Linked DNA regions of Homo sapiens: region 1 is linked to region 2. Evidence: promoter capture Hi-C in 16 types of primary human blood cells and fetal thymus (Javierre and others, 2016). All regions are on one chromosome and are shown on one strand. The core of a region is centred on a gene start or on the middle of the fragment in contact, and the rest is flanking DNA. Distances in the headings are between cores, read along the strand shown. Region 1 has its middle 92 kb from the start of MARCO. Region 2 holds the start of SCTR-AS1 (SCTR antisense RNA 1).

Evidence for each region. Contacts are between HindIII fragments. The CHiCAGO score rates a contact against its expected background, and 5 or more counts as called.
Region 1: a fragment that was not itself captured here is called in contact with the fragment with the promoter of SCTR-AS1 in region 2 in 1 of 17 cell types (M2 macrophages); the score reaches 5.1 in M2 macrophages.

What each region holds. Positions count from the first base shown.
Region 1 is chr2:119,032,938-119,036,346 of GRCh38, forward strand. No RefSeq gene overlaps it. Among named protein-coding and RNA genes, the nearest start is that of MARCO, 92 kb to the left of the region's middle. The HindIII fragment of the contact is 377 bases long and covers 1,933-2,309 here.
Region 2 is chr2:119,474,737-119,477,795 of GRCh38, forward strand. SCTR-AS1 (SCTR antisense RNA 1) reads left to right here and starts at 1,718. Exons shown (of 2, transcript NR_147847.1): 1 at 1,718-2,222. All of the region lies in intron 3 of SCTR (secretin receptor), which reads right to left. RefSeq lists an enhancer at 35-585. The HindIII fragment of the contact is 1,181 bases long and covers 1,045-2,225 here.

The sequences.
Region 1 (3,409 bases), core at 871-3,370, 440 kb before region 2:
CCTGAGAATTTGCTGAAGTTGCCTATCAGCTTAAGGAGATTTTGGGCTGAGACGATGGGGTTTTCTAGATATAAAATCATGTCATCTGCAAACAGGGACAAGTACCAAAACAGAGACAAAGACCAATGGAACAGAACAGAGCCCTCAGAAATAACACCACACAACTAAAACCATCTGATCTTTGACAAACCTGACAAAAACAAGAAATGGGGAAAGGATTCTCTATTTAATAAATGGTGCTGGGAAAACTGGCTAGCCATATGTAGAAAGCTGAAACTGGATCCCTTCCTTACACCTTATACAAAAATTAATTCAAGATGGATTAAGGACTTAAATGTTAGACCTAAAACCATAAAACCCTAGAAGAAAACCCAGGCAATACCATTCAGGACATAGGCATGGGCAAGGGCTTCATGACTAAAACACCAAAAGCAATGGCACAAAAGCCAAAATTGACAAATGGGATCTAATTAAACTAAAGCGCCTCGGCACGGCAAAGGAAACTACCATCAGAGTGAACAGGCAACCTACAGAATGGGAGAAAATTTTTGCAATCTACCCATATGACAAAGGGCTAATATCCAGAATCTACAAAGAAATCAAACAAATTTACAAGAAAAAAACAAACAACCCCATCAAAAAGTGGGCGAAGTGTATGAACAGACACTTCTCAAAAAAAGACATCTATGCAGCCAACAGACACATGAAAAAATGCTCATCATTACTGGTTATCAGAGGAATGCAAATCAAAACCACAATAAGACACCATCTCATGCCATTAGAATGGCAATCATTAAAAAGTCAGGAAAAAACAGATGCTGGAGAGGATGTGGAGAAATAGGAACACTTTTACACTGTTGCTGGGAGTTTAAATTAGTTCAACCATTGTGGAAGACAGTGTGGTGATTCCTCAAGGATCTAGAACTAGAATTACCATTTGACCCAGCAACCCCATTACTGGGGTTATACCCAAAGGATTATAAATCATGCTACTATAAAGACACATGCACATGTATGTTTATTGCGGCACTATTCACAATAGCAAAGACTTCGAACCAACACAAATGTACATCAATGATAGACTGGATTAAGAAAATGTGGCACATAAACACCATGGAATACCCTGCCACCATAAAAAATGATGAGTTCATGTCCTTTGCAGGGACATGGATGAAGCTGGAAACCATCATTCTCAGCAAACTATCACAAGGACAGAAAACCGAACACTGCATGTTCTCACTCATAGGTGGGAATTGAACAATGAGATCAGTTGGACACAAGGTGGGGAACGTCACACACTGGGGCCTGTCAGGGGGTGGGGGGTTGGGGGAGGGATAGCATTAGGAGAAATACCTAATGTAAATGATGAGTTGATGGGTGCAGCAAACCAACATGGCACATGTATACCTATGTATCAAACCTGCACGTGGTGCACATGTGCCCTAGAACCTGAAGTATAATAAAAAAAGAAAAGAAAATTAACAGATAAATTATAAGTCACAAAGAATCTCTAAGCAAACATACCTAAGAGAAAAATCAGAATAAGCCAGACAGGGAAGACTAGAATAAATAATCCTTCAATGTAACTCATTATTTCCAAGACAACACAGAAAGGCAATTTGGAAATTTATTAGAGAAATTTAACAAGGAGAATAAAGTACTTAAAAAATCAAATAGAACCCTTGGAACTGATAAAGACTTTTGCTAAACTGAAAAATTCATTAGAGACTCTCAATAGTGGAATAGGTAAAATAGAGGAAATAACCAGTGAACTCAAAGATAGGCTATTTGAAAATACAGTTGGAGTAGAAAAAAGAAAAAAAAGAATAAAAAAATGAAGGTCACCTACAAGATACAGAAAATTACCTCAAAAGAACAAATTTAAGAATTACTGTTGTTCAAGATGGAGTATAGCAAGAGCAAGGGGAAGAAAGCTTATTTAAACCAAAACAGAAACAAAAAAAAAAACCAGAAAACTTCAAAACTTGAGAAAGGGAGAAATATCCAGCTATATGAAAGTCAGAGAAAACCAAACAGATTCAAACCAAATAATACACAAGTCACATAATAATCAAACTCTCAAAGGTCAAGGATGAAGAGAAGATCTTAAAAGTACAAAGAGAAAATAAGTCAATAACGTATGAAGGATCTCCAATTCATTTGGCAACAGATTTCTCAATGGAAATCATACAGGGCAGGAATGGGATGACATTTTCAAAGTGCGAAACTAAAAAACAAAACAATGAAAAACTGCCATCCAAGAATACTGTGTCCAGCAAAGCTATCCTTCAAATATGAAGGAGAGATAAAGCTTTTCCAGATGAAAAGCTGAGAAAATTCACCACCACCAGACCTGTATTAAAAGAATTGCAAAAGGAAGTCTACAATCTGAAAGAAAATCTTGTCAGACACCAGACGTGTCTTACAAGGATTGCAAAAGGAAGTCTAAAATCTGAAGAAAAAAAAAAAAACACTAACATACAAAAATAAAACATGTAAAAGTATAAAACTCACTGGTAAAATTAAGTACACAGACAAACCTAGAATACTCTAATACTGCAATCGTGGTGTGCAATTCACTCACAATTCTACTATGAAGATTTTTTTTAAGTGAAAGCCAGTTTATCAAGAAAGTAAAGGAATGAAAAGGTGTTATCTACTCCACAGGCAGAGCAGCCCTACTATGAAGATTAAAAGACAAAGCTGTCAAAAATAATAATAGATATAGCAACCTGTTAAGAGACAACACAAAGTCAAAATGTAGGCAGGGGTGGAATTAAAGTGTCAAGTTTTAAAATTGTTTCTTTGTTTCTATTCTTTTAATTGTCATCTAAAATAAGTTGTCATCACTTTAAAATAACTTGTTATATCTATAAGATGTGTTGTGTAAGCCTCATGGTAACAATGATGCAAAAACCAATAAGAGATTCACTAGAAACAAAAGCAATGAATTAAAACATCCTACCAGAGAAAATCACTTAATCACAAAAAAAGACAGTAAGAAAGGAAAAAGGAAGAGAGGACTTACAAAACAACCAGAAAGCAAGCAACAACATTAGCGTAGTAAATCCTTACTCATTAAAAAAAAGAATCAATGAAAATTGACACAATTTTTCAATTAAAAGGCATAGAGTGGCTGAGTGGGTAAGGAAACAAGAACCAACTCTGTGCTGCCTACAAGAAACCTACTTCACCTATAAAGACATATATAGGCTGAAGGTGAAGGGGTGAAATAAGATATTCCAGGCAGTTGAAAACCAGAAAAAGAGCAGGAATACCTACGCTTTTTAGATAAAATGGACTACAAATGGGATTACATCAAGTTAAAAACTTCTGCATAGCAAAGGAAGCAATCATCGTAATGAAGACACAACCCACAGAAATAAGAGTAAATATTTGCAAACTAGCT
Region 2 (3,059 bases), core at 468-2,967:
CACCAAGGCCCAGAATTGAGCTATCATGCCCAGCCACAGCGTATGCTATCACTGTTCTACCCACCCACCGGGCCCTCTTCCTGAAGTCTCAGGGGCAGCGTCTAGGACCAGGAGACCGTGTCCTCTGAGATCTGGGCATGCCTGCCCTGTGGAGGCTCAGGAGGCCTGGAGCGCAGGTTTAGAAGCAGCCAGATCTGAGTCTGAAACCCAGTGCAGCCTCTTGGTCACTGTGTGACCTTCGGTGCATCATTTCTCTGTGCCACAAAATAATCACCCACACTGCAAGAGTGAGCAGGGAACATGAGAGCACACGGAAAATGCCTAGGCTGGTGCCAGGCACAGAGCGGGCACCGAGGCATCACTCCCCTCTCTTTTTGGCCTTTCTAAAATAGGCAGAAGTGGGAGGGGCTTGGAATCTTGGAATTTAGGCGAGGGGTGGGGAGGTTTCTGGAACTGAATCAAGAGAGTTAGGTTGTCAGATGGGAAACAACGGTGGTCAAATTTAGGCTGGGTGGATGGGAAAGCAAGTTAAGGGAACACAAATTCCCCCAAGGCCAGAATCGAAGGTTATAAGACAGCGCGTGCCTAGAGGCTGGGCTCCCTGTGGGCTCGCCCAGGGCAGCAGGCCTGCCCGTTTGGGGCCCTCTCCTCACTGACACAGCAGGACTCCCAAGACAGATGCTGCATGTGACCCAGGCCAGGTGCCCAGAGCTGCTAACAAGGCAGGGCCCCCTGCCTTCCACTCTGTAGAGCTGCAAAGCAGCTGCCTCCCCACTTCCCCAGGGCTGAATTCCTAATAGGTAAGGGAAACTTAACCAGGCACAGGCCAGTGTGCACCTCAGGGGACCCCTGAAAGGATGTTTGTGCATATATATATATATATAGATGTAGATATTTATATTATATATATAATATAAATAGATATTTATATTTATATTTGTATTATATTATAAATATAAAATAAATATATATATTATGTGCATATATATAAATATATAGATATATAGATATATATTTATGCAGTTCGGGGAAAGACTAGTCCAAAGCTTTCATCTGATTTTCAGAAGGCTCCGGGACCCTAATCAGGTTGGGAAGCATGACCGCTTTAAGGCCAGATCCTCACTAAGTAGGAAGAGAAAGAGGGCCAAGGGGATGCCGCTGGGGAATTGTGTTTTTTAATAAGGAACTCTGGAAGACCAGCGTCCTTTTCAGAATCAAAGGAATACACCCTAGAGGGAGCATTCTAGGCCTGGCATGAACAGAAACATCTGGGGGCAGAATCGGCCTGCGGTTTCTCCAGTCACATGGACCCCACCCCTCCTGTCAGGACCCATGTAGTAGGTGCCCTCAAGGAGAATTAATTTATTTTCCAGAGCACCTTGTCCTCACTGGGCGCTCCCCCTGGGGTTAGGGTTGGGGGCACCACCTAGGGAAGCCTGCCTTCCTGCCGGGAGATGAAGGGGCAGGAGTCTAATCAGACCCAGAAGTAGATCTATGGGGATGAAGGAGGGGTGGGTGGGAGTTCTTGATGATAAATTGAGGCCAGACAGCTGTTGACCTGTGCTCTTGGGCCACCCACCCCCAGGCTGGGTATGAACAACGTGGCCCCCACCACCCTGGAGGGAGCCCAGAGCCCAATAGGCAGGCCTTTGGTGTGGCCCTGCAGGCCCACAGCGACACCATGTGGCGGCGAGAAGAAACTGCAGCAGAGTCGGCACAGGACCCCAGCTTCCATCCTCACGTTGTGTGGACATGGTCCAGCTTCCTGCCGCGGACCATGAGCAATCCAAGGGTAGGGGAGCCTCAAGAGGGAGACACTGAGCCTTTACGTAATGAGGCAGGGAGGGGTTCAAGCAATTAATTGAGAAAGGATGTGACAGGACTGGCACCTGGTCACTTTGTGGCCGTGAGCACCAGCTCCGCCTATCCCCTCTGCAGGGCAGAAGGGACAGTGCTGCGGGAGGCGGAGGTGCTGTGGCTCTGGGAAGGCTGAAAAGGGACGGCTGCAAAGGAGAAGAGCTTCGAGTCCTTTCCATCAGGAGAAAAACCCGGTCAGCTGTGGAGGAGCACTGCACAGGAGTCAGAAAGTGGAGTCTGGGCGTGACCTTGCACCTGACCAGCCTGGGGCTCTAGGTCCGCCACATCTGGACTAATCTCCTGTGTCCTGAGCTCCCAGGACCCCAGAGGCAAGCATGGAGGGGCCACGCTGGCAGGTAAAGTTGGTAAGCTTGCGGGGGTGTGTGTGGCAGGGGTAGGGGAGGGAAGGTGGGAAGGAGAAAAAGGAAAAGAAGGGAGAGGAGTAGGGGAGAAGGGACAAAATTTATTTCCAAGCACAGCCTTACAGGGCAGGTCTTATTTATTTTCCCCATTTTACAGTCAAGAAAATTGAGGCTCCCCAGCAGTGAGCAACTTGGATCCCGGGGCTGACTGGCACCCAGCTAAAAGACATTTCCCCAGGTCCCTTGCAGTTAGATGTTGCCATGTGACTGAGTTCTAGCCGAGGGAATGTGGGCAGAGTGGGATCCTTCCCAGGCCCGCCCCTTATGAACCTCTGCTGTGTGGTCCTCCGAGTTCTTTCCTCTCCGCCAGTCAGCCTGGAAACTATGTGATGCCACGGTTGTGAGGTGTGGGGTGCTGGGGTCACCGTGTAGAGGAGAGCTGCCTGCTAATCAGGAATACCTGTTTCCTGTTCTGGACGTTTTTTGTTTGTTTGTTTGTTTGTTTGTTTGTTTGTGACAGAGTCTCACTCTGTCGCCCAGGCTGGGGTGCAGTGGCACGAGCTCAGCTAACTGCAACCTCAGCCTCCCAGGTTCAAGTGATTCTCGTGCCTCGGCCTCCTGAGTAGCTGGGATTACAGGTGTGCACCACCACGCCTAGCTAATTTTTGTACTTTTAGAAGAGATGGGGTTTCACCATGTTGGCCAGGCTGGTCTCGAACTCCCGACCTCAGGAGATCCGCCCACCTCGGCCTCCCAAAGTACTGGGATTACAGGTGTGAGCCACCGCACCCAGCCTGTTTTGGACTTTCTGTGGACAAATTTGCATGAAGGCTTTGAGAT